Linked DNA regions of Homo sapiens: all the other regions are linked to region 1. The links are contacts of gene promoters, found by promoter capture Hi-C in blood cells and fetal thymus (Javierre and others, 2016). All regions are on one chromosome and are shown on one strand. Each heading gives the region's core, a stretch centred on a gene start or on the middle of the fragment in contact. The rest is flanking DNA. Distances are from core to core; before and after follow the strand shown. Region 1 holds the start of SSTR2 (somatostatin receptor 2). Region 2 overlaps SLC39A11 (solute carrier family 39 member 11). Region 3 overlaps SLC39A11 (solute carrier family 39 member 11). Region 4 overlaps SLC39A11 (solute carrier family 39 member 11).

Region 1 (6,879 bases), core at 1,402-3,901:
TCGCACCACTGCACTCCAGCCTGGGCAACAAGAGCGAAACTCCATCTCAAAAAAAAAAAAAAAAAAAAAAAAAAGAGGTCAGGCACGGTGGCTCACACCTGTAATCCCAGCACTTTGGGAGGCCGAGGTGGGTGAATCACGAGGTCAGGAGATCAAGATCATACTGGGTAACACAGTGAAACCGCATCTCTACTAAAACTACAAAAAATTAGCCAGGCACGGTGGCACGTGCCTGTAGCCCCAGCTACTCGGGAGGCTGAGGCAGGAGAACGGTGTGAACCCGGGAGGTGGGGCTTGCAGTGAGCCAAGATCGTGCCACTGCACTCCAGCCTGGGCGACAGAGCGAGACTCCGTCTCAAAAAAGAAAGAAAGAAAGAAGGAAAGAAAGAAAGAAAGAAAGAAAGGAAGGAAGGAAGGAAGAAAGAACAGGACTTCAAACAGAGCATACTTAGTTATGGGTCCCCTCCCCACACAGAAAAACTCCCTGGACATCAATGACTTCATCCATTCGGACTGGCAGATAGGCCACATTTCCTGACACCCTGTCTCTTCACCTTAAAAGGGTTAGCTTTCCACCACACCAGCAAAGACCCTCAGGACACACGATTCATATTCCCAGCTGAGCATCTACCCGGAGGTAAGCAGACGCTCAGGCACCTGGGCCGTCCTTGCCCTAATCCCTCCAGTGGTGTCCACACTGAGTCCTGCAGCACTGGTAGAAGGTGGTCTTCGGCTCATCTGCAGAGTGGGTCTGAAGCTACATGTAGTAAGCACAAGGAGGTTCTCATTGAGGACATGGCTCTGCAGTAGAGTCAACATCCTCCCAGGCAGCTGCTCCCCCAAGCCCATCATCCACTTCTTTCAGCTTTGAGTACTTCCAATTTGTTACCTTGTGGGTGAAGTGCACACAGAGGCACGTGTTGCAGGCGAGGGAGTGGCAGCGGCAGCGCTGTCCCTCCTCCACGATCAGCCCATCCCTGCAGCCAGGGTAGAACAGCAGCATCATCTCGGACTCTGCTGGCTCCAGTTATTATTTTTTTTAATGAAACGTAAATCTGGTATTAACAGTTTGAGAACTTTTAGGAAAGGAATTTGAGGGCAGAGTGGGCACTTCCTGGCTCTTCCTTCTTTTCCTGGAAACCAGTCAGATTACTGGTTTTAAACTGGAGGTGGCAACAGGCATTGTAGCAACTGTGTGGCCAGAGGATGCCGAGTTCCCCTGAGCACAATTCCACGATGCCCTCCTGATATTACTATTACCTCTCTGCCTCTCCCTCTTCCCACTGACGGTGAGCAGACACAGCCCTCTTCCAGTGAGCTAGCCACCCCAGCCCTTCCACTTGCATACACATGTCTAAAAGAGATGCTGGCTCCCAGATTGACTCCTGGAACTTAAGGCAATTGCAGCTCAATTTCCATCTCACCCTGAGCTCCAGGATGCCAAGATTTAAGCCCTATCATGACCAACGTCTCAGAGAGAGATGGAAACTCCTGATCCCCATCTCACAGTGGGTACCCCAAGATACAGCTTGGCCCAGATAGAAGAGAGAGCTGGCTGCTGCTGTACCTGGTGGTTGCTTTTCCATGTCACTCATCTATCTCTAAGGCTCACCCCACCTGCCACACAGCTTCTGGACTTTTACTTTTCCCTGGTGAATTGGAAATCAGATAATAGGATGGACAAATCAAGGCAGCTCAGCTCACAGAGAAAGCTAGTTGGGGTTTGCTTTCTGTTTTCACATCCTCTAAAACTGTACTGAGGATGGTGTGTGTGTGTGTGTGTGTGTGTGTGTGTGTGTATACCTATGTACTTGGAGGAGGGTGAGGAAGGGGAGGCTGCAGGATTGATTATGACTTATTAAACTATTGGAAAAGAGGCTGAATCATCACAGTCAAAAATAAACAGCTGCAACTCCATGCGACTCCCACTTCTTGCCTGCTCCCCTTTGCTCCCTCACAGCATGTAGGAGAGACTGTGCTGGGTCAGACCAGCAGGTGCTGACTGACGTGGCTACAGCAAGGGGACCACCTGTATGGCCGCTGCACCTCCAAGCTGTGGGACGCAGGGACAGCTGGGACCAGTCGACGTCCACTGGCCCTCTGATGGCTCCTAGGACTGAATCTTGGACTCCAGGTGCGGGTTTACACTCCCTGCGCTCATTGGGAACTGCATGGAGAAGCGCTATCCCCTGAGCCCTTTTTCTCCCTACTCTTAGCCTGGCCCTGCGCCCTGCGCCCGGGGCTGGCCCACGGTAAACACAGCTTTGCTAACTTGTTTGGCTAAGGAAATCACAGAGGTCCCGGTATAAGTCTGGGTCACCCCGGCCGCCACTCCAGCTGCCTAGAATATATGGGTGGAAGGGAATCGACTCTGTGAAATCAGAGGGAAAATAGCGCTTGTCCTTGCCATGAGTCTTGAGGAGACCGAAAACGCTTAACCTTTTACGCCCCCGCAGGCGGGTCCCCTCTCTCCCCGCTCCCCGGCTGTCTGTAAGCTCTGCCTGCGGCCACCCGCAGGCGTTTCAGCCGGTCTCACCCCTGTCCTTCTGCAGGACCCGGGAGGAGGGGTTGGGGGGGCGGAGCGAAGCCGCTGTGACGTAGCGGGAGGGGGGCGTGGGGAAATGTGCCGAGGGGCCCGGGCTGGCTGGGCCAGTCCCAGCGGCGCAGCCACCCATGCGCGCGCGCTCGCAAGACCACCAGCGCCCAGAGCCCCAGTCTGAGGCTTGGCGCCGGGGGTCTGCGGGCGAGGGGAGCTCTCTACGTGCGAGGGGCTAGCGGGAGCCGGCACAAGAGGGTCGAGGAGCCAGGAACCCCAAACGTCCGGCGCCAGGCGCTAGCCAAGCTGCTGCGCGCCCCGGCGCCCAGCTGGCTCGGGGACAGCCGCTGGGTGTCGGAGACCGGAGCTAGCGGATTGCAGCGGAAAAGCAAAGGTGAGGGGTGTGTGTGTGTGTGTGTGTGTGTGTGTGTGTGTGTGTGTGATAAGAGAGATGGAGGGAGCGAGAAGCGCACTTGGGCACCTGTGTGCATCTGCGCTGATGGTGGTGTGCCCATCCGAGTGCCTGAGCTTAGGTCCCGGTGCGTGATTCTCCGCTCTTGTGCCTTTTGGGGTGATTGTAGTAGGAATGAACGACAACGGGTACCCTTGCCTGAGTAAGGGGGCTGTGGGTAGAGTGTGCTGGAACGGACGTGTCCTCGCAGCCTCATGCCCGTGTGCGTGGCGTGTGCCCTTTAGCCCGAGATTTCAGGTAGCTGCGACGGGTGACAACTTCTCTCCCAGCCCCCTACAAAAGAGACCTGGCGCGAGGGGAGCGAGGCCGTGAGATGCCAGCTGGGGCTCCTGCGGGAGCGCACCCGGAGATCCGAGCCTGCCAGAGGCAGGCGGCGGGCGCAGAGCGGAGAAAGAGGGGCTTCTCTCCCTAGACGCTGAACGATCTAGGATCCGTCCCCGTCCCCCACCTCGGGACAGAAAGGACAGTTTGTCTAGGTTTGGAGAGAAAAAACCACTGCATAGGCCGTGCCCAAAAGCCGCTGGCCAAGTCCCCCAAGCGACTGTCTTCTGCGCCCCGATGTCTCTGTCCTCAGCGCCCCCCCCCCACACCCGGCACCCCTGCTGTGCGTTTCGATACTGGGCGTGCTGGCGCCACAATCTCCGCTCTTGCCTCGTCTTCCTGGAAATGGCACAGAGTTCTTTGGGAAACCCTTGCTCTGAGGATCAGCGAGTTGGATGGCCAGGAGGAGGACTTTCTGTGCCAGCCGGGAGCAACCGGCTCCGCGGTCCTGACACTCGCCCCTCCATTTCTCAACCCCGTAGGCCAGCACCGCCCCGGCTTTTCCCAGGCGCTCACGCGCCGCGGTGGCCCTCAGGGGCTTTTGTCACCCTGCCAGTGGGGGCTCTCGCTCTAGCCGCACAGAGACCAAGCCGGGTTCTGCAGGCCCTGAGGGAGGCGGGGGGTGGGAAGTGAATGCGGGAAACATGATGGGGAGAGGAGAAACTGAAGCTGAGTAGGATTTAGGACCTCCCCTGATGTCGGGTCGCCATCCCAACACTCATTTCTTGGGCTGGTAATCACAGCCCCTATGTAAAAGGGGGGCGGGGGGGGCAGGTGCGTGAGACCATTCTCACCCTCCTCTCTACAGAGCCTGGACATGGTTCAGAGGAAACCAACCACTAGCCATTTCCAGCATCTAACAATTCTTGGGCTGGAAAAACAAAGAATGCAGAAAACGAAACTTCCTTGTACATTTAATTTAACCACAATTCATCTAGAATTGTCTGCCTGGCATTGGAATATTCTTTCTCTGAAACAAAAATGAAACAGAAGTCTCTGGAAGACCTTAAGCGGCTGACTTCTTTGTTAAATAAGACTCCCCATGATTTAAGCTCATTTCTTGCTTAGAGGAGCCTTCCCACTCTCAGCCGGCTCCCCAGCCTCCCACCTCCACCACCTTCACCAAGACTCTGAACCCTGTCTGTTGCTACCATTAAGCAATTCTGTCCTGTTGACTCAAACTCCAGTTAAAATGACCGAGTTAGGGCTGGAAAGCAACACTCAACCCTCTCTCATACTCCCTGCACCATCATCGTTCCTAGCCCAAAAGCTCTTAGACAGGGGCTCTGCCAACCCAGGGGGATTCCGTGTTACTCAGACATTGGAGTGTGACCATTCATGTTATATAGATGGGCCCCTGGAAATCCCCATGATAAGGTACACTCTGATTGCAGGCAGCTTGAATAGGATTCTGGCTCTGTAGAATTAAACCAACTGACCAGATGGTTAGAAGTGATAACGAAACTACCCAAGTTAATCCAGGGATACTAACCACAGTTTCTGTACAGCTTCTGTTTTAATTGCTGCCAGTCTATGCTTTTTTACGCAATGCAGACATGAAATTCCAGGTGCCTCAAATACTTCACAAAATGGTCAGCCACAAAGCCCAGATCTCACTTCACAGACAGTTGTGTGGTAGGGAAATGAGCACAGAAGGAACGAGCAATGCACCTGGCAGTTCAGAATCAATCAGAAGCAAAGGTGAGCAAGGATCCTCAAGTACTTGTTGCTGGCCAAGTCTCCTTTAACTGATCTGCAGTCTTTCCAAGGATTAAGAAGTAATCTTCCATCTACACCCAGGCACCAGGAAAAGGACCTAGCTCAGGGGAAATGTGTCAGCCAAGTGAATTAGTCCCACTCTGCTGAACACACCACCCTTTGAACATCTCGCCTCTTCCTAGATTGGCCTCTTTGCTGTCCTCCTGCTTCACTCTTCATATACCCAAGACCCAGCTCAAACACTTCTCTTTGGAAGCCTCCTCTGAGTCCCCCAGGAAAGGAAGGCATTCTTAAGTCCTTCATTTATCTCTCGTGCAATGCCCACCCTATATGAGCTGGCTTCCTTTCCTATCTCCCCTTTTAAATTATCACCTCCTAGAGGGCACTGGCCAAGTTTGTTCATTTCTACATCCCTGCTGTCAGCACAAAGAAGCCTCCTCTCCAGGCCCCCAACCCCCGTGATATTTTTTGAATGGCTGTATATCAATCATTTAATTATGGGATGAACTATTGTTTTAGATCTTAAGCCAAGCCAATAGTGCTCCAATTATTTTCTCAGCAAGGAAGTAACACAGGAGTCAGTTGCTTCAAACCAAAGCCCAGTTATCAGCCGTTCGGTCTCTAGGCCACTGAGGAGCAGAGGGGATGCCTTGAGACGTGCAAAAGACTTGGGGCCAGGTGGCCTGTGTTCACATCCCAGCTCCACCAATTATGTGCAAGAGAATGGGGTGAGCTCCTTAAACTCTCTTAAGCCTCAGTTTCCACATCTCTAAAATGGGGGTAATTATCCCTACCACCTAGGACAGTTGGGGAGATCAAGGGACTCGTGAGTGTGAATGAATTATATCAGTACTGGAAGCCTTCTGCTTACTTCTGTGAAAGAGCTTGTGTCCCACACCTGCTTCCCGTTTTTGTCCGTAATTAGAAAATGGCAGGCAAATTCTCTGGAGTGTTACAGCACTTGGGAGCAGCATCCCCTTAGGGACTTTGGGAAAGAGCTCTTGAGGAAGTCAAGCATTAGGTATTGGAAAACAAAAATAGAAGAAAAACAAAAAATAAACTGAAGCCTACATTTCAAAAATGAAAGCAAACCAGACTTTTATTTTTAATACTGAAGACTATAAATTGTTTCACCACGTAGGTAGATTTCAATAAATCAGAGATAATGAGATGGTAGAGGAAAACATGGGGGGAAACAACTTACGAGGTTCCCATTATGAGCCCAACGCAAGGCTAGGCATTTTCACATATATTCCATCATTTAACCTTCATGACGCCCCCATGTGAAGAAATAAGAGTCAGAACCATTAAGGACCAGGCATGTGGTCACACGGGCTCAGCAGTGGAACCCGGTTTGTTCTGCCTCTAGAGTCTGGGTTTTTTCCACTATGGCATTTTCAGAATGGAAAGACTCCAAGGCAGTCAGCAAGTCAGCATAGATTTCCTGGTAGGGAAGAGGCCAGGAATGTCAGTGTCAGACCCTTCTGAGGTCAGGCGCTGAACTTCTCCAAGCTCTGCCTTTCTGCAGTTTAGATCAGTCAACTTCTTAGGGGTCAAAGTATGTGCTTTTTGAAGCCACAGCCCTCCCCGACATGTGCGTCAGCAGATGATGGCTGAACCCAAACCCTTCCCTACTATTGGAAAAACAACTCAAAAAGTCTGCACACTGATGAGGAACTCTAGAGCTTAATGTTGATGTGGAAAGATAATACATTTTTCAATTTAAGAGTATGTCTGAGAGGCTAAACCAGAAATGTGTAAATTTGGTGAGACTTTAAACAGCCTGTGACCGACGGGCCAATCTTCCTCTTTTCCTTCCAGATGTCACACT
Region 2 (6,879 bases), core at 2,864-5,363, 310 kb before region 1:
GTTTTCTGAGCAAACCTTCCTTTTAAAAATGCCTTTACAAATTGGCTTATATTGGAAGAATGTCATTCTTAGAACCTTATTCTAAATATCCATGGTCCCCTGGGCTATTTGTTTATTCATAATGGAGCCAAATTGTGTGGATTTGAAATTGGGAGGACAAGAGTGGGAGAGAGCATCCAGCTTTCAGTTCACAGCATGGGATGGATTTGTGGGGAAGGCTTTCTAGAGGAGATAGGTCTTGAGTGAATCTTAAACACGTGATGGCACAGACAGAATGAAGGGTCCCTTTATTGGGAGAGAAAACCCAGCAAGCATAACTCAGGTGTCTGTTAAATTAAATAAGCAAAAGGCCATTGGTCTGAGGCTGTACTTTGAGTTGCTTCGCAGTGAACTACAACCTAACTTAGTATGTATACAAATGAAAATCTCATTAGGAGTATATATTTTTTGTAATAGGATAGCTAGATCTCAGTCAATCACAAGCGGCTGAGCTTCAACCAATCACAGGCAGCCAAGCTTCAGCCAACCAGAGGCAGCCAACTGATCAGACTAAGTCCAAATAAGGTAAATGCCTAACTGTAACCAATTAAGCTATTTCTATACTTTATTTCCTGCTTGAATTTCAAAAAACACGGAGCTCTCTGAATGTCTTCTAGTTTTGAATGCTGCCTAATTCACGAAGCCTTTAATGCTTAAATAAATTTAAAAACATTAGAAGAAAAAAACTTCTTTTGAAAATCATTTTGTGGCCAGGCGCAGTAGCTCACACCTGTAATCCCAGCACTTTGGGAGGCCGAGGCAGGCGGATCATGAGGTCAGGAGATTGAGACCATCCTGGCTAACACGGTGAAACCCTATCTCTACTAAAAATACAAAAATTAACTGGGCGTGGTGGCAGGCGCCTGTAGTCCCAGCTATTCGGGAGGCTGAGTGAGGCAGGAGAATGGCTTGAACCCAGGAGGCGGAGCTTGCAGTGACCCGAGATCCCGCGGCTGCACTCCAGCCTGGGCAACAGAGCAAGACTCCGTCTCAAAAAAAAAAAAAAAAAAAAAAAACAGAAAGAAAGAAAGAAAATCATTTTGTATTTATTTGCTCAAATCCTACAAGTACAGATTGAAAAGTAAGAAAGTACAGGGCAGGTAGACTCACTCCTCCCCAGCTCCCAATCATTTCTCTCTTACTAACAGCTGAATCTCAGTTCCATTAGGAAAAGGGGGGTCTTTGGTCCTCCACAACGCAAGGATGCCAGTCCTCCACTGGTCAGTAGCCCTGACTCACATAACCAGCCTGTGGAGAATTCAGCTGTCTCAATTGGATAGCAACTCCTCCCAGACAGTATTTACACAAGGCGAAGCTCCACACTCATTGTGTGGTATCCACACCATGTGTATGCATGTACGTGTGTGTGTGCATGTGTGCATGTGTATGTGCGTGTGGGTGCATACAACTGCTACTCAGTACCATCCTGAGATATTAGATCACCTTCGTGTATGTATGCACATGTGTGCACTTCTGTGCACACATTGGGGGAAGGGGTTTTATACATTTTGAGTAGACAATATGTAGATGACTCAGGCTGCAGATGCTGGTTGAGAAACTGAACTAAACATCTGGGATTTCAAGCTCACAAATGCTAAAGACATAAGCAAAGCAGTCCCTGAGAGCTGTCCATGAACTAACCTGGGTCATGGTGGAGGGTCCTCAGCTTTCTCCTAGATCAGTCAGCAAACATTCCTGATTTCCTGTGCCTGGTCTGAGCATACAGGCCTGCACTAGATGCTCTCCAGTGAGAGTTGATAGGGGCCAAAAGAAAAATCTCTTCTCTTGCAGACTTTTGATTGATTGATTGATTGATTGATTAAGCAGGGTCCCACTCTGTTGCCCAGGCTAGAGTGCAGTGGCACAATCTCAGCTCACTGCAGCCTCCACCTCCCAGGCTCAAGCAATCCTCCCACCTCGGCCTCCCAAGTAGCTGGAACTATAGGTGCACGCCACCATGGCCAGCTAACTTTTGTATTTTTTTTTTTTTTTTTCAGTAGAGACAGGGTTTTGCTGCATTGACCAGTCTGGTCTTGAATTCCTGGACTCAAGCGATCCACCTGCCTTGGCCTCCAAAAGTGCTAGGATTATAGGTATGAGCCACTGCACCTTGCCCCTTGGGGATTTTATAATTTAAGAGAGGGCAGACAGAGAAGACACACACAAATTCCCTCAAATCTAAGGGGCTAAACACACACTCTAACAATCACCGACAGTTGCGCTTGTTTTTGCCAATGTCACAAAAGGATCCTACTCTGAATCTCCTGCAGATACCGCACAGAGAGCAACAGACCTCGGACGCACCACGAGCAAATTCTAGCGTTCTGCTTGTGTTTTATAGGAACATCAAGGAGCATAAAGAATTCTTCACCAAAATAAAAATGCACGCCTGGCCCCAGGCTTCCAATGTGTGAAAACTGACGTCAGTGCCTTCCCTAGTAGGAAACAGGAGGGTGTGAATGCCTCACGTCCTTGTGAAAGTTAAATAAGCCACCATTTGGTGACAGCCACTAATGAGTCTGCAACAAGGAAGATTAGTCCAAATAAATCATTACAGAGTATGATGCGTCGTGAGCAATGAATCTTCTTGCCGCTCCTGGTAAGGCTAGTTCAACCATCACACCCATCAAGTAAAATGCTAGTGCGTGGGAAAAGGATGATCAGTTAGCGGAGGCAATTGCCAAGCACCTTGTGGGATGTGAGGGTGTGCCAGAGTGACAAGAACCTCGTGAGGTTTCTTGAAATTGGAAAGGTTTGGGCACTTTTGAAGTGGAGTTTGGGAAGGAGGAGTAGAGGGGGGACTATTTCATTTAGGGATGAAATAGTCAATGTCAAACTCAGAAGCAAAACAACATCAGAGACACTGGTTAATAGGTAATATTGGGAACTTATCTTCAATGAGTCCTCAATCCTTACAAAAGCCCCATGAAGTAGAGATTAATCCCCTTTAACGAATGAGTAAATTGAAGAACAGAGAGGCAGAGTAACTGGTCCCAGGTCACACAGCCAGTCTGCAGTGGACTCAGGAGTCGACTCAGCATCTTTGCCTCCAGGAGCCCCTCTTTTAACTAGGGCCTCATGGTTGACTGGGGATGAAGTGGGGGGTGGGGTGGGGGTGGAGAAAAGGCTGAACTGCTCATTGCTTGCCAAAAAAGGTAGTGGGAGCAGTTGCTGCCGTGAGAAGGAGAGTCTGGTGAGCTCTCATTGCCTGTGACCAGAGTGGGGAAAGACTCAGGAGAAATCTCGTATCTATAATCATTCTTACTTGCAGACAAACCTGAAACATTTCATGATAGTAGTATGTGTTAACCCATTAGACCTACTATTTCTAAGCATAAAGTAATTGCAAGCAGAAAATATTTACCCATGCTAAGCCCACAACACAGGCTTATACTTCTTTTGGGAAGGAGAATGAAGATTCTTTGTTGTTAGGAAAAAAAAGTTGCCCATCATTAAAATTTTGTTTTTTAACTTATAATTGAGCATCTAAGAATTCACACAAAGAAAGGACCCACTGCCAGGGCTCAGCCTCTCATCCTTCCCACTCCATCTTTCCTGGAAAAGAACCACAGTGCTACATGAAAGGGTGAGGACGACAATAAAACAGACAGAAAAGTCCCAGGCTCACTTTTCCCACGGAATCACCAGGTGATCTTTTCTGATGCATCCGCTTCCCTGATTTCCTCTTCCCCAAAACAAAGGACATGATTGTGGCCACAAAACATCATAGGATGGAGAAAAGCAGACACGGGTCTTGCGGGCACAAGCCCAGGGGCCATCAGCAAACCCTGCTGCCCAGGTAAGCCCCTGCCCTTCAAGGTCTGGCTTCCTCCCTGCAGAGTGGAAGTCTCTGAAGTCCTCTAGTGAATGGCCCCAAACCATTTTGGATCAGCAACCGCCTTTGAAAGTACGGCGAAAGTTACAATCCAGCAAAAAATACACAGACCATTTTGAAATAATTGTCGGGTCCTTATGGATTCAAGAACGTCAGACTGAGAACATCTTGCTAGATAAATGCCAAGTTAACCTCCGTTTTCATAGCCCACGGGCCCAATCACACCAGCAACACAGAATGTATGTGGTCCCTGAGATGGTGTAACCGGCTAAATCTAATGGGCCCAATGATGGAATTGCAGGCCCCCGATGAATATGGCAATGCTAATTAACAGAACACTAGCCAAGAGAGCTTTAACAACATTCCCATGGTATTATTGGAGATGATTTGGTTGGATTAGCACAAATGGCAAATCGTCATCTGTTAAGTGCAGAAAGCATCAAATCCCTGGAAAAACTCTTTCTAAACCCCTGTTACAAAACAAAATGAAGAGTGGCCAGCAACATATATTCATTAAGTAGTATGTATACACAAACAAAACCAAAGGCCAATCAAAAGCAGAATAGAGGCCGGGTGCGGTGGCTCACGCCTGTAATCACAGCACTTTGGGAGGCCGAGGTGGGCAGATCACAAGGTCAGAAGATCGAGACCATCCTGGCTAACACAGTGAAACCCCGTCTCTACTAAAAAATACAAAAAATTAGCCAGGCGTGGTGGCGGGCACCTGTAGTCCTAGCTACTTGGGAGGCTGAGGCAGGAGAATGGCGTGAACCCGGGAGGCGGAGCTTGCAGTGAGCCAAGATGGCGCCACTGCACTCCAGCCTGGGCGACAAAGCGAGAATCCGTCTCAAAAAAAAAAAAAGCAGAATAGAAGGGGATCAACTTATATTGTCCCTGCCTTCTTGTTTCCCAAAGAATCAGTCTAGTTTCAGGTAACACAAATTATTATTTACATTCTCATATGATGGGAACTTTTGGCTATTTCTAGACTTTTTTTCTTATAAATATCACTGTAAAACCTTTAATGTATATAAACAATCAGAAATTGGACAAAGTTCCCAGAAGTTGAACTGTTGATCAAAGGGCCATGATACAATTCCCTAATAAATTTCCAGGAAGGCTGTGTCACTTACCCATGAACAGAGTTTGCAAGTTCTCATTATGCCGCTTCTTAGCCCTGGTATTTCTCATCTTGAAATAAGTATATTTATTTATGGGGCAAATGACATTTCTCTTAATGGGTATTTCTTTGACTACAAGTGAGGTGGAACATTTTTCAATTTCAGGCATATTTCTTTCCTCTTTTGAAAGATGCCTGCTGCCCAAATGAGGCCTCTTTAAATAACAGTAATATGATTAGCTAATTATTTACAGACACTGGTAATTTTCCTGTGATCCGCTTAGGTTTGTCAATGAGACCTAGCTGGGAGTAGCAGGTATTATTATACATCAGACAGACGTATCCACTTGGCCAAGTTGGAGTTTTAGCCTCAAATTTTAAAATTCCTTTTTGAGATTCCTCAAGACATTATAGGGCTTTAAAAAAAAGTATTACCTGCTTTCCTTATGGAACTATGTAGTATGATCCTGAAAGCTAATTTTCTCAGGCAATTGTCTCTTTCAATATTAAAACTTTTTTTTTTTCTTTTTTGAGATAGATTCTTGCTCTGTCACCCAGGCTGGAATGCAGTGGCGCAATCTCGGTTCACTGTAACACCCGCCTCCCAGGTTCAAGCAGTTCTCCTGCTTCGGCCTCCAGAGTAGCTGGGACTACAGACATGCACCACCCCACCCGGCTAATTTTTGTATTTTTAGTAGAGATGGGGTTTCACCATGTTGGCCAGGCTGGTCTTGAACTCCTGACCTCAGGTGATCCACCTGCCTTGGCCTCCCAAAGTGCTGGGATTACAGGCGTAAGCCACCACATTCTTTTTTAAAAAACTTTCACTTTAGGTTCAGGGCTACATGTGCAGGTTTGTTATACAGGTAAACTCATGTCACGGGGGTTTGTTGTACAAATTATTTTGTCACCTAGGTACTAAGCCTAGTACCCAATAGTTACTTTTTCTGATCCTCTCCCTCCTCCCACCCTCCACCCTCAAGCAGGCTCTAGTGTCTGTTGTTCCCTTCTCTGTGTCCACAAGTTCTCATCATTTAACTTCCACTTGTAAGTGAGAACAACTGGCATTTGGTTTTCTGTTCCTGCATTAGTTTGCTAAGGATAATAGCCTCCAACTCCATCTGTGTTCCCAAAAAAGACATGATCTCATTTTTTTTATGGATGCATAGTATTCCATGGTATATATGTACCATATTTTCTTTATCCAACCTGTCACTGATAGGCATTTAGGTTGATTCCATGTCCTTGCCATTGTGAATAGTGCTGCAATGAACATTGATGTGCATGTGTCTTTATGGTGGAATGCTTTCTATTCCTTTGGGTATAAACCCAGTAATGGGATTGCTGGGTTGAACAGTAGTTCTGTTCTTAGCACTTTGAGGAACTGCCACAGTGCTTTAGTTCAACAACGGTTGAACTAATTTACACTCCCACCAACAATGTATACATTTCCTTTTCTCTGCAACCTCATCAGCATCTGTTATTCTTTGACTTTTTAATAATAGCCATTCTGACTGGTGTGAGATGGTATCTCATTGTGGTTTTGATTTGCATTTCTCTAATGATCAGTGGTGTTGAGATTTTTTTCATATGCTTGTTGGCCACATCTATGTCTTCTTTCGAAAAGTGTTCGTGTCCTCTGCTCACTCTTTAATGGGGTTGTTTCTTTCCTGTAATGTGTTTAAGCTCCTTACAGATGCTGGATATTATATCTGTCAGATGCATAGTTTGCAAAAATTTTCTCCCATTCTGTAGGTTGTCTGTTTACTCTGTTGATAGTTTCTTTTGCTGTGTAGAAGCTCTTAAGTTTAATTAGATCCCATATGTCAATTTTCACTTTTGTTGCAATTGCTTTTGGGATCTTTACCATGAAATCTTTCCCTGT
Region 3 (6,879 bases), core at 2,129-4,628, 290 kb before region 1:
ACCTCAGCCTCCCAAAGTGCTAGGATTATAGGCATGAGCCACTGCACCCGGCCTATAACAAGCCCCTTTCAATCACACCTAAGTTTACATGTGTGCGGTGCCTTTTGGAAAGCCCTTAAGGATGGGGGGCGCTGTTTGCCAGGGGAAACAATCATGAGATTAGAGAGTTGAATTTGGGCCCCACACCCAAACCTGGCCTCTGGGGAGGAGGAGAGGGCCTACAGGTTGAGTTGATCACCATTGGCCAATGATTTAATCCATCATGCCTGCATAATGACCCATCCATAAAACCCCAGAAGGACGGGGTTCAGAGAGTTTCCTGGTGGCTGGACATGTGGGGTGCTGGAAGGGTGACATGTGCCCCATCCCCCAGGCCTTGTCCTGTGTGTCTCTTCTACCTGGCTGTTCCTGAGTTGGGTCCTTTTATAATAAATTGATTACCTGTAAGTAAATTGTTTTCCTGAGTCCTATAAACCATACTAGCAAATGATCAAACTTGAGGAGGGGGTTGTGGGGACCTCTGATTTACCCTCCAGTTGGATGGGTGAGAGCCTGGATCTGTAATTGTTGTTTGAAGTGGGGGCAATCTTGTGGGATGTAGCCCTTCATCTGTGGGACCTGTTGCTGTCTCCAGGTACACAGTGGCAGAATTGAATTCAATTGTAGGACACTCAGCTGGTGTCCTTACAAAACTGGAGAATTGCTTGGTGTAGGAACACTGCACACATTTGGTCACAGAAACGTTCTGTGTTGAGTGATAGTATAAAGGCAATGATTTTTCCTATACAAGAGGTAAAGAGAGTAATGTCTATGATGGTGTCTGCTCCTGTCCCAGTGCCTGGGGAGGGCAGGTGATTCCAACCCAGCAAAGTCCCAGGAGTGGAGGGAGTTGGAAGCCAAGACCCACATCCCTGGATTTACAGACCCTCTGGGGTGTGTCCCTAGCTTGCCACCCACAGCGCATCCACATCCTCACACATGGGAAACCCTAGGATACAGCTGAGCTCCACTCTGATCCCCAGGGGCGTTGGAAGGTCATCAGGGCCAGATGGGTACAAACCACCCAACTCTGCCAGATTCTCAGATTCGACAGACGGGTACAACCCACCCAACTCTGCCAGATTCTCAGACTCAACTGGTCTCTCGAAATAAGGATGTAACAACGTGGGGGCAGTGGCGTAGCTCCTAACTGGCTATGGCACCGAAAAGCTGATGAAACTGCCTTTGCGAAAATTATGACAGTGATAGAAATCTTACATAGCTGATCCATCTTGCTTCTAACCTCATAAGCTGTCATCCCTGGACATAGGCCAAGCTAGCTACAGGAGGAAGTTAGTTTCTAGTGTAACTTTAAAACAAAGATGATAACAGTCCCTTGCCAAAACTAACCACCCCCTCCGTTGTGGGGACTGAAACTGTCTTTGTAAAACTAACCAATTGGCCACCAGGTTAGAATTATGGTTCAGGGGCGGGTGCAGTGGCTCATGCCTGTAATCCCAGCACTTTGGGAGGCTGAGGCAGGTGGATCACAAGGTCAGGAGATCGAGACCACCCTGGCTAACATGGCGAAACCCTGTCTCTACTAAAATACAAAAAATTAGCCGGGCGTGGTGGCGGGCACCTGTAGTCCCAGCTACTCGGAGGCTGAGTCAGGAGAATGGCGTGAACCCGGGAGGCGGAGCTTGCAGTGAGCCGAGATCGCGCCACTGCACTCTAGCCTGGGCGACAGGGGCAAGACTCCATCTCAAAAAAAAAAAAAAAGAAAAAAAAAAAGAATTATGGTTCAGGACTCATATAGCTGGAGGTTACAAGATCTATAACCTCCCCAGTTGCTCCTATTCTTAACATCGCTATTATAAAACCTAAGACTGGTATTTGAGGTGTTTTTCAGACCTCACGTTCTGATGGACCGGCTGGCACCACCTGGATGGGAAACCTATACCAAGAAACTGACTCAGCTGGGTCCTGTGACCTCTACCCAGAAATTGATTCTGCACAAGAAGATAGCTTCAACCCTCTGTGATTTCATCCCTGAGCCAACTAATCACCTTATCCATTTCCTAGCCCTCTGCCTGCTAAACTACCCTTGAAAAACTCTAGCCTCCAAATATGTGAGGAGGAGGACTTGAGATACATCTCCCATCCTTCCAACTTGGCTGGCCCTATAATTATCAAACTCTTTCTCTTCTGCAACTCTTGCCATTAAGTGTTTGGCTTTTCTGGGCATCAGTCAACTGCACTAAGAAAGCAGGTTTGCAGAATGAAGAGAGCTGATGGAAAACAGAAAAAAGAGACCCTGGTGGGAGGCAAAGGAGAATATGTGAACACGTGCCCTCAATTTCCCACCCCCTGACTCTAGCACCCCATGAGACTCAACTTAGCACACTGCCCTTGGATTGTTTCCTTGGAATATATTCTGCCTTCCTCCTTTAGCTGGTCTGAACTGGGTTTCGCTCCCAGAAACGGTTTGGCTCTGTGTCCCCACCCCCACAACAAATCTCACTTTGAATTGTAATAATCCCCATGTGTCAAGGGTGGGACCAGGTGGAGATAACTGAATCATGGGGGCAGTTTCCCCCATGCTATTCTCGTGATTCCTTCTCACAAGATCTGATGGTTTTATAAGGGGCTCCCCCCACTTGCTCAGCTCTCACTCTTTCTTGTGCTGCCTGTGAAGAGGTGCCTTCCACCATGACTGTAAGCTTCCTGAGGCCTCCCCAGGCACGCTGAACTGTGAGGCCATTAAACCTCTTTCCTTTATAAACTACCCAGTCTTGGGTATGTCTTTAATATCAGCGTGAGAACCGACTAATATACTCCCTTCCAACCACAGGCACCCTTCCTTGATGAAGACAAAACCACAGTTGCAATAAAGTCTTAATGGTTGACAGTATAATAGGAGACAAGGTAAGAAATGATCACTTAAATGTTTGCCAAGGGAAAGTAATCACCTGGGACTGGTGAGCATAAATGATTTTTGCTCCAAAGCAAAGAGAAAATCCAGAGTCCACTCTGGGTTTCCTGCCCGATGTAGAACTGTCTCTGTTCCTTCTCTCCCACCCCGGACATGCAGTTCCCTCTCATGATTTTGTGGGAAAGCTCCATCCTCAGCTAGGATGGATGCTCTGTGGACAAGAAGCTGAGGCGTCCATCTGCAAGGCTGTCGCAGGGATGCTGAGCAAAGCTGACACCAGGAGGGAGGGGAAAACCCCGCTGCTGGTAATTCAAGGTCCTATAATCTTCTCCCATTTTGCAGGTGAACAGCCTGGTATAGGAGCCTGAAGTTATCGGTCCAGAAAGAAAATGCAGGTTCCTGTCTCCTGTCACCTTCAAAACCTTGCTTCCAAAGAAATCATCAGGGAACACCCTGAGAGGAAAGAGCGAGCCCTGAAAAATGAGCAGAAGTATCCTTGATGGAGAGGAGGAAGTGGTAGCAATGTTGGGTTTTGTCTGTATTGGCCATAGCCAGCAAAAGCCCATTCCCCTGTCCCGCTCTAAGAAGAAAGCACAGCCAGGGCCTCCAACCCAACTGTGGACAAAGGAAATAAGACAAAGATTGTAGAGTTTGGGACCCAGTCATTCCTCGTTCTTTCCCACTGAAAACTGAGTGGAATACATTTTGTACCCCAAATGAAGCTAAAGAATATTACAGTGGCTGCAGGTTGAATAAACTGGGGGAAAGGAGGGAGAGACCAGAACCAAAAACACTCAGATGGGCAAATATATCTCAAACACAGCACGAGAGAAACACAGGGAGTAAATCACAGCAAAGAGAGAAAAAGAGGAGACAGGGTTATTTTGGGAAGAAAAAACTGGTGCAATTAGATGCAGAAATAACATTTTCAAAGGGGAGGAAGTCACAAGAAATGTAAGGAAGTGAGCTGTGTATATTATTTTAAATCTTGTTCACATTAACACTGTAAATATTCCAATTAATTCATCATTATTGAATTTGCCAGCAAGGCTAAGGGTAAAACTTCAGCCCAAAGTTTAATTATACCGAGGCAGAGTGGAGCATTTTTCATGTCCCCAAGAACTGCCAATGGAGAAAGATGAAGCTTTCATAATGGCCAGGGTGACAGCCACCTTTCTGAACACAGCTGTTACCTACCTGAGGACTTCCCAGGAAGCCAGCGGGATTCTGGAACCCCCTGAGGTTGTCCAGCTAATTTGCAAAGTGAGACAGAGTTTTATGGAAAAGCTATTCAAACCCACTGATGCCAAATGCTCCAACAATCTGTCCACCCTTCCCTTCCTCATCTCCCACAAAGGCACCCATGGCTGTGCATGTTTATGCGTGTGTCTGTCATCCTACATTCATGTGGCTCTGGTTGATTTCCCAGTTCGCATGCATTTACTTATTAACGATGATCTAATTCGGAGTCATTGTTTCTTTTCTAATCTATTTCTTTCTTTTCCCTTAGAGCACTTTCAATGCTTACTGTGTCAGACCCTCCTTCTGAGGAAGGAGGTGGGACTTGATTCCAAAGGCGAGGCTCAGTCACGGGACCAAACTGAGGACTAGCTAAAACAGGGGCAGGGTGGAAGCAGCTTTCTATTAGACATGTCCACCCAGTGTGCCATATCAGCTTAACACTGCCATGGCAACATCCTGGAGCTACCACCCCTTTCCATGGCAATGACCCAATGACCCAAAAGCTGCCACCCTTTTCCTAGGATTTTCTGTATATAATGCCCCTTAATCTAAATGTAATTAAAAGTAGGTTATAAATATAACTGCAAAACTGCCCTGAGCTGCTACTCTTGTCACACTGCCTTATAGGGTAGCCCTGCTCTGTGGGACCAGTCATGGGAGTGTCAAAGTTAAACCTGGAATGTTTCCTTCTTGTGATTTTGGGACATAACCATGCTCTGCCATGCCCAAAAGCCTCCATCAAGATCAATGGGTGGAAACAGAAATTGGATTATGGTGGTCAAATAAAAAATAAAGAGCTATTGTAGAATACTTAGGGGAGAAATGGGCAATGGTCAAATGCTTCATATCCCCTGGCCCCAAAGCCAAAGTCAAGTACAAAGAAGCCAAGGAAGCATGTTGTTAAGTTCCAAAAGTTTGTCTCTGCTTGTTAGAACATAGTGCTAGCAAGATCACAATCACAGGAACTTATGAAACAGGCCTAATTGTTGCATGAAACTGATATTTATGGTTTCTTTTGAATAAACACAGAAATGGACCCTCCCAGCCTTAAAACTTGAGAAAGTTACATTCGTCTTATCTGAGTTCCTTTCTCAGAAAACCAACCACCTAGTGCCTAGATAGTATCATGGAGCTGAAACTTACCAATCACTGCATCTGGACAATGAAACCCCTCACCTGTCATGATCACCTAACTGATCATGTGCTTCCTATTGACCAACTCCTCTACTCCTCCCTAATTCCTGTTTCCCCACACATGGTTCCATTTCTTCCCTGCTATATAAACCCCCTAATTTTAGTCAGTTGAAGAGAAGGATTTGAGACTGACCTCCTATCTCCTCAGCTGCAACACCTGATTAAGGCCTTTCCTGGCAGTACCCACTGTTTCAGTGATTGGCTTTCTGTGCAGCAAGCAACAAGACCTAGACCAAACCCCTGGTTTCAGTAACACTTAGAGCCTACAGAAACCACTCCAATTTCCCTGTGCCCACAACCACAAAATAAGCTCCCAGGCCCTAGCCAGGCACCCAGCAAATGCAGGTCCTTGGCTACAAGGTAGGCTAAGAAAAAATGCATAATGTAGGTTAGTGTCCCACCTGGGTTAGATAAAATCTAATTAAGCATCATCTTATCAAAAGAGCCAAAAGAATCATCATCTCTATAAAGAAGGGCACCAACACACACACATACACTCCCTTTTCTTTAGATCATTGTAAGCCTCAAGTTATAAAAAATGATGGTGTGTGTTAGGTGTGTGCTTTGGAGGGAAAATGCCAGAAAAGGCTTTGTGATCAAATGTTCCTGTCTTTCCAATCTAACTGCCTTTCTCTCTCACCTCTCTTTGCTTCAAGAACATTCATGACACTGGGTCTCTGAATAGTAATTCACAAGGCAAAATTATTGGCGGCTTTATATTACAGCCCATTTTCCTGACTCCTTTGAAGGGTGGGCAATTAGAACCTCAAACACAATTTTTTCATTCTGGCCAGTGCCACGTTAAAATGGGCAAAAAGCGGGGAAAATGGCCTCAACCTTTCTTTCGCAATCAGTTCACGATGCTTGATTGAAACCTACCAATTACTTTTCCCCCCATTTGCTCATGAGAGGTAATCAAGGTGGAAGAAAAATCTGAAGCTAGGAGAGACAGAGAAATTGCAGGCAATTTTCCCAGTGAAAGGGCTTTCTCTAGCTGCCTGATTCTGATGTCCCTATTAGGAGCTGGCTGAACATGGTCCATGGTCTCACGACAGACTTGGAGAGACCGGGGACAGCGTGCTTTACTCTGGCGCCTCAGGTCCAGAGCACGTGATGGCACTGGCCTTCATCTTCATTTTTATTTTTTTATTTTTATTTATTATTATTATTATTATTATACTTTAAGTTTTAGGGTACATGTGCACAACATGCAGGTTTGTTACATACGTATACATGTGCCATGTTGGTGTGCTGCACGCATTAACTCATCATTTAGCGTTAAGTATATCTCCTAATGCTATCCCTCCTCCCTCCCCCCACCCCACAACAGGCCCCAGTGCGTGATGTTCCCCTTCCTGGGTCCATGTGTTCTCATTGTTCAATTCCCGCCTATGAGTGAGAACACGCGGTGTTTGGTTTTTTGTCCTTGCGATAGTTTGCTGAGAATGATGGTTTCCAGCTTCATCCATGTCCCTACAAAGGACATGAACTCATCATTTTTTATGGCTGCATAGTATTCCATGGTGTAT
Region 4 (6,879 bases), core at 1,269-3,768, 270 kb before region 1:
CAGGAACCTTCATAGATCTGAACAAAGCCACTCAAAAGAGCCTAAACACATGGCTCTACCTGATCCCAACAGATGGGGTTAGTGGTTGATTGTCAACAGTTGCCTGCATTTATCTCCCAAAAGGCCTTCTGGAACCTCTTCCCTGACCTAAATAGAGACGCTTCTAAACATTTTAGAAGGCATGATCTTTTCAGAGTCCCATGCAACAACATCATTTTGCCTACTCGATCAGCTCTAAGCTTATTTCATCCAAGATAAGTGTTGAGGCCAGGTGTTGTGGTTCACACCTGTAATGGCAGCACTTTGGGAGGCTGAGGAAGGAGGATCACTTGAGGCCAGGAGTTCAAGATCAGCCTGGGCAACATAGCAAGACTCCATCTCGATAAAAGATGAAAAAATTAGCCAGGCATGGTAACGTGCACCTGTAGTCTCAGCTACTTGGGAGGCTGAGGAGAGAGGATTGCTTAAGCCCATGAGTTCAAGACTGCAGTGAGCTATGATTGTGGCCCTACACTCCAATCTGTGTGGTATAGCAAGACCCTGTCTCTCAAAAAAAAAGAAAGAAAAGAAAAAACGAAAGTGTAGACAGGAGTAACTAGATACAGTTGCAGAGACATGGTGTGCAGAGGTCAAACATGTTCATAAAGAGGCCTCAGACTCAAGCAAAATTCTACTATTGCCCAAATAAACTCTGACTCTGAATACAGGGCAAATCTCTATTTGCCCATTTTAAAAGGGAGGTTCGATCAATGTGAATTTATAAACGTTTAGAGATGCAGATATGGATACCAAATATCTATTAGCCATACTTAAACCATTAATTTAGTTACAGATGTGTATTTAAAATAAAATAAAATATTATATAAAATATATTACATGGCCAGATGCAGTGGCTCACGCCTGTAATCCCAGCACTTTGGGAGGCCAAGGCAGATGGATCACCTGAGGTCAGGAGTTTGAGACCAGCCTAGCCAACATGGTGAAACCCCATCTCCAATAAAAATACAAAAATCAGCTGGGCATGGTGGCGGGCACCTGTAATCCCAGCTACTTGGAAAGCTGAGGTAGGAGAATTGCTTGAACCTGGGAGGTGGAGGTTGCAGTGAGCTGAGGTGGAGGTTGCAGTGAGCTGAGATCGTGCCACTGCACTCCAGCCTGGGTGACAGAGGGAGACTCCATCTCAAAAAAAAAAAAAATACGTTAAATAACAAATACTGCTTTTATACATTCTGACATTTCACAAAACAATTTGATTCAATCTCTGCTTCTTTGATGCTAGTGTTGTTGCATTCACAAGAAACGCTTCTTGACTTATCAATTTTCAACAGCACATAATTTTTACTTCCATCTAAATTAAGATTTGGCTGTTGCATAATCTGCATGATACTGTCACCAGTAATTTTATCCTGAGCCACAAAGACTCACTTGCACGGCAATAGTTTTTTCATTGTTTGTATTCATCCTATAGGAGTATTAGTGATTTGCACTAGGAAGCCACGTGCTGTACTGAGTAGCATGGCTTGAGTATCGTGTAAGGAGCAATGGACTCTGATCCAGTGAAGGGCTGGAAGCAAGAAAATGCATAGAGTTAGGTGGGTGAGAGATGGCACAAAACCAGAGGCAGGGCAGGCATGGTGGCTCACACCTGTAATCCCAGCACTTTGGGAGGCCGAGGGTGGCAGATCTCTTGAGATCAGGAGTTCAAAACCAGCCTGGCCAACATGGTGAAACCTGGTCTCCACTAAAAATACAAAAAAAAAATTAGCTGGGCATGGTGGCAGGTGCCTGTAATCCCAGCTACTTGGGAGGCTGAGACAGGAGTATCACTTGAACCCAGGAGGCAGAGGTTACAGTGAGCCGAGATAGCGCCACTGCACTCCAGCTTGGGTGACAGAGTGAGACTCCATCTCAAACAAACAACAACAACAACAAAAAAAAAAAAAACCACCAGAGGCAGAGGAATGCAAAAAGAGTCCGTTGGTATGGTCCCAGCAAGTTATAACTAGGGATTCAACTAGACCAGTCATAGTAGGAAGGGATTCAAGAAACATTTGTGAAGCAAAATCAGCAGGGCTTGGTAACTAAGTGGATTTGGGGGATTAGAGAAAAGGAAAAGAGAGAAATGATGCTGAGGTTCCTGGCTTGAGTGACTGAGTAGATTTGGTTCCATTCAACTCTTCTGGGTATAAGTAATAAAGGAGACAGAGAAAGCTGAACTGGGAGAAAAAAGCTATCAGGTAATGTATTCTATTTTAGACCCATTGAATACAAGTGGCTGTTGGACAGATAAGTAAGCTATCTGGCAAGAGCAGGGGGATTTCATTCTGACATTTAGGAAAGAAAGCTTGGCTGGAGAATCAATTTGGGAGCCTGAGCCCCTAAATTCTAAGTAGAACTGTGAGTCTGGGTGAGATTCCAGGAGAGAATGCCAGGAAAAAGTGGACTGCTGATGAAATGTAGGGGGATAGAAAACTAATTTAATGGATAGGCAAAGAAAGAGAAGCCCAAAGGGGGACTGGTAAGATGTCACCAGAAAGGAAGGATGAGAATGATTAAGCACTGCAAATATACTGAGAATTTCAGCAAAATCATGAGTCATGATTTTCCACTGGATTTGATGTTTAGTGGGTCGCTGATCACAAGGGGGTGGAAAGTGAAGAAATGCAAATAGCTCTCACGTACCTGTATTTTCCAAAGCTTTGTTGAAAACATAAGAAAACAAAATGGATATCAGGTTGGGGGGTGGGGGGTGGCAGGGCGGAGGGAAGACTTTTCCAGATAAAAGACATATGAGGCTGGGCTCACACCTGTAATCCCAGCACTTTGGGAGGCCAAGGTGAGTGGATCACCCGAGGTCAGGAGTTCAAGACCAGCCTGATCAACATGGTGAAACCCCATCTCTACTAAAAATACAAAATTAGCTGGGCGTGGTGGCACATGCCTGTAATCCCAGCTCCTCAGGAGGCTGAGGCACGAGAATCGCTTGAACCCGGGAGGTGATTTGGACTCTTGCTCTCCTGCCTGGACGCCCCTGCCAACCTTCTCTACCCTCTCAAAAAAACAGAGAAAATAAAGACTTGGAAGGACCTGAAGAAAATTCCTCAGATCATCCTGTTCCCCAGCTGCCTTTCCAATCTCCCACCCTCATAGCCTCCCACTTGCTGCTCCCCAGTCTGGAAGGTTCTATCCTCACTCTCTCCCCTCAGTTCATGATTCAGGTCCCTGCTCAATGCCTTTTTTGAACATCCTATCAAAAATACTCCCTGGTCACTCTCTCTCCGGCCATTACCTCGCTTTTACTTCCCTCTTTGGTTTTAAACCTACTTGGCATTATTACACATATAGATATAGATATATATTAACACACACAGATACATACATATAAGTGCATATATAATATAAAGCCAATAGAAATGATTTTATTACTATTTATTACTATTTTATATTTAAATAAAATTATTTAAAACATAATTTTAAAATTATTTTAAAAATGTAAAATAATTTTTATTATTTTAAAATTTAAAAAACTCTCCTCCACTAACTCATGAGCCTGGGGCATTACTGTTCTGTGCTATGCACTTCTGCAGCCTCAGGGCCTAGCACAGTGTCCAGCACACAGTAGGTGCTCAATAAAGATGTGCTGAATGAATACTATGAAGAGCCAAGGTAGAGATAAGACTATTTTTTTTCCCCAAGGATTGCACAGGATGAAATGAACTTCCCTAGCAATATAAGGGAAAACATTAATAATTTCTTGTCTAATTATAAAAAGTTATTAGAGGCTGGGCGCAGTGGCTCACACCTGTAATCTGGGAGGCCGAGGTGGGCAGATCACCTAAAGTCAGGAGTTTAAGACCAGCCAGGCCAACATGGTGAAACCCTGTCTCTACTAAAAGTAAAAAAAAATTAGTCAGGTGTGATGGCGCATACCTGTAATCCCAGCTATTCAAGAGGCTGAGGTAGGAGAATTGCTTGAACTCAGGAGGTGGAGGATACAGTGAGCTGAGATCACACCACTGCACTCCAGCCTGGGCAACAAAGTGAGACTCCATCTCAAAAAAAAAAAAAAAAAATCTTATTAGAGCCCAGAATAGATGTCAAAGAGAAACACAGAATCTCCTCTTGAGAGTCTTAGAAAAAAAAGATAATTATCTTTCTGGGGTAGAAAAAGAATAAAGATAAATAGATTAAATAATACTGTATGGTTCGTTTCAAATTCAAGAGTCTATTTCCCCACTGATTTGGGGTTATTTTTTGCCTGTCTTTTCCAAATGAGCAGGAGACAAAATTGAATCTCTTGGTTCCAGGGCTAAAAGATGCTATCAATTTCTGTTGATTCTAGGTGAGATAACACAACGCAGAAACAATTGGTCCACAATCCAACCAGTAAACTGGATAATAGACAATTTCTGAAGTTTTTTAGAAAGAGTGCAGTGAGAAACTGTTCAGATTTGACAGCCATTTCCCGCATAACTCCTTCCTCCAACTGACTTGTTGGATCCAAAAGACAAACTGGAGGGAGTGAGGGAAGGGAACGAATGTAGCTAGTCACTCATTGCCAGCATCCATGTATTTTCCAGGGTAGGTTCTCCAAGAGGCAATTATGTTAAATCAATCATCAGGAAATGAGGTCTTCGTAATGATAGCTATGACTTTGATTTCAAATACTGTGCCAATCAGAATGAGGGCTTTTGTTCCCTTGTCAAAAGGATCATTTATACTAAGTTCTAACTAAACAATACCCACTACCAACTTCCCTCCAAAAAGAAAAGAAAAGAAAAAGGAAAATGAAGCCCAATACTATTGAATGAAAACATATGGACCAGGGGCCGGGGCGGTGATTCACGCCTGTAATCCCAGCACTTTGGGAGGCTGAGTCAGGCAGATTGCGAGGTCAAGAGTTCAAGACCAGCCTGGCCAACATGGTGAAACCCTGTCTCTGCTAAAAATACAAAAATTAGCCAGGCGTGGTGACACATGCCTATAATCCCAGCTACTTGGGAGGCTGAGGCAGGAGAATTGCTTGAAATGGGGGGTGGAGGTTGCAGTGACCCAGGATCGTGCCACTGCACTCCAGCCTGGGCGACACAGCAAGACTGTCTCAGGGAAAAAAAATATATATATATAGATACGGACCACAGAAGCTCAATATAGCAGTGAGTTCCTTAGCTATCTATATTGTACAATTTGTTCTTTAAGTCTCATTCCTGCTAAATCACCTGAGAATCCTCATTGGAAAACCAATGCTCTTCCCGAGTCTGCAGGCCAAATTTAGGGTTAAAAAAATGGGGGGTTAGGGAGGGCCTTAATTTGCTATCAAAACCCAAAACACACAACATGAGAAAAATCAAGGTTAGAATAAGTTCAAAAGAAGATCTGGTTCTTGACCATGATAATGTCACTATTCTAATAGGGTCCTAGGAAGAAGAGGGCTAAAGACACCAAGGAGGCTGGATAAGTCCCATTGTTGGAGAGAAAGTTAGTGAGTTCTCCTAGGTGACTAAGGCACTTACCACCCCAATAAAAATATTGTTTTCCTTTTAGATATTTCCTCGATGTCTGCTATATACCAGGCCCTGTTTGTACTAAGTGCTAGGGATATACAGACAGGTGCTGTATAGTGTCTGAACCTTTAGAACCAAGCAGTGAGTGTGATCAGTATGTAAACTGATAAAGTTCAATGCAAAATAACCAATGCTCATGATAAATAGAAAATTACAGAGGGGGTTGGGCATGGTGGCTCACATCTGTAATCCCAGCACTTTGGGAGGCTGAAGTGGAAGGATCACTTGGGCCCAGGAGTTCAAGACCAGCCTGACCAACATGGTGAAACCCCATCTCTACTAAAAACACAAAAATTAGCTGTGCGTGGTGGCGCATGCCTGTAATCCCAGCTACTCTGGAGGCTGAGGCATGAGAATCACTTGAGCCCAGGAAGCGGAGGTTGCAGCACACCAGTATGGTATCACTGCACTCCAGCCTGGCAACAGAGTGAGACTCTGTCTCAAAAAAAAAAAAAAAAAAAAAAAAAAAGGCCAGGGACGGTGACTCATGCCTGTAATCGCAGCACTTTGGGAGGCTGAGGTGGGCAGATCACGAGGTCAGGAGACCATCCTGGCTAACATGGTGAAACCTCATCCCTACTAAAAAAAAAAAAAAAAAAAAATTAGCCGGGTGTGGTGGCACGCACCTGTATTTCCAGCTACTTGGGAGGCTGAGGCAGGAGAATCAATTGAACACAAGAGGTAGAGGTTGCAGTGAGCTGAGATCATGCCACTGTTCTCCAGCCTGAGCAACAGAGCAAGACCCTGTCTCAAAAAAAAAAAAAAAAAATTCTAGAGGGAACCTAGAAGGAGCCAGTACCTCAACCTGAATGAGTCAGAAACGTTTCAGAGAGGGGAATAATTAATCTAAGTATTGAATAAGACCTGGGAGGTTGCTAGGCAATGGGAGAAACATCTCCAGTGGAGTGGTCAATTTCAGTGTGGGCCTAGAGAGATGGTGCTGTAGAAGATGCACCCAGGGATGGTGGGCTGAAGGTGGACTGGGAGACCGTCTTTCTATGTGATCCTATAAGCAGCAGGAACTGACCAGGGTGGTGCTGTGAAGGTAGGGCAGTGTTCATCCTCCTCTCCACTGTTTCCCCAGAAACTAACGCAGAAACTGATTTGCTTCATTGATTAACTTAAAACAGAAGAATGTTTCTTTGGTTACTTCAAGGTAGCTATTGCTAGTTGCATTGGTGGGTGCTAGTCGCATTGGTGGGTGCTAGTCGCATTGGTAGGGATGAGGTGGGATGTGACAGAACAGGCAGCGGGCAGGGAAGGCTGGGAGGCAGCAGGGTTGGTGCGATGGGAGAAGGCAGCTTGGAAAATCATT

The links. Contacts are between HindIII fragments. The CHiCAGO score rates a contact against its expected background, and 5 or more counts as called.
Region 2: a contact is called between a fragment that was not itself captured here and the fragment with the promoter of SSTR2 in region 1, in 1 of 17 cell types (M1 macrophages). The highest score is 5.5, in M1 macrophages.
Region 3: a fragment that was not itself captured here is called in contact with the fragment with the promoter of SSTR2 in region 1 in 2 of 17 cell types (M1 macrophages and M0 macrophages); the score reaches 6.6 in M1 macrophages.
Region 4: a fragment that was not itself captured here is called in contact with the fragment with the promoter of SSTR2 in region 1 in 1 of 17 cell types (M0 macrophages); the score reaches 5.0 in M0 macrophages.

Annotation. Positions count from the first base shown.
Region 1 is chr17:73,162,359-73,169,237 of GRCh38, forward strand. It overlaps SSTR2 (somatostatin receptor 2), which reads left to right and starts at 2,652. Exons shown (of 2, transcript NM_001050.3): 1 at 2,652-2,930; 2 at 6,870-6,879. It also overlaps the pseudogene POLR3KP2. RefSeq lists an enhancer at 1,777-2,026 and a silencer at 2,567-2,906. The HindIII fragment of the contact is 15,303 bases long and covers 1-6,879 here.
Region 2 is chr17:72,851,174-72,858,052 of GRCh38, forward strand. The region is part of intron 5 of SLC39A11 (solute carrier family 39 member 11); the gene reads right to left. Among named protein-coding and RNA genes, the nearest start is that of LINC00511, 210 kb to the left of the region's middle. The HindIII fragment of the contact is 7,198 bases long and covers 515-6,879 here.
Region 3 is chr17:72,871,309-72,878,187 of GRCh38, forward strand. The region is part of intron 5 of SLC39A11 (solute carrier family 39 member 11); the gene reads right to left. Among named protein-coding and RNA genes, the nearest start is that of SLC39A11, 220 kb to the right of the region's middle. The HindIII fragment of the contact is 1,356 bases long and covers 2,701-4,056 here.
Region 4 is chr17:72,888,355-72,895,233 of GRCh38, forward strand. All of the region lies in intron 5 of SLC39A11 (solute carrier family 39 member 11), which reads right to left. Among named protein-coding and RNA genes, the nearest start is that of SLC39A11, 200 kb to the right of the region's middle. The HindIII fragment of the contact is 353 bases long and covers 2,343-2,695 here.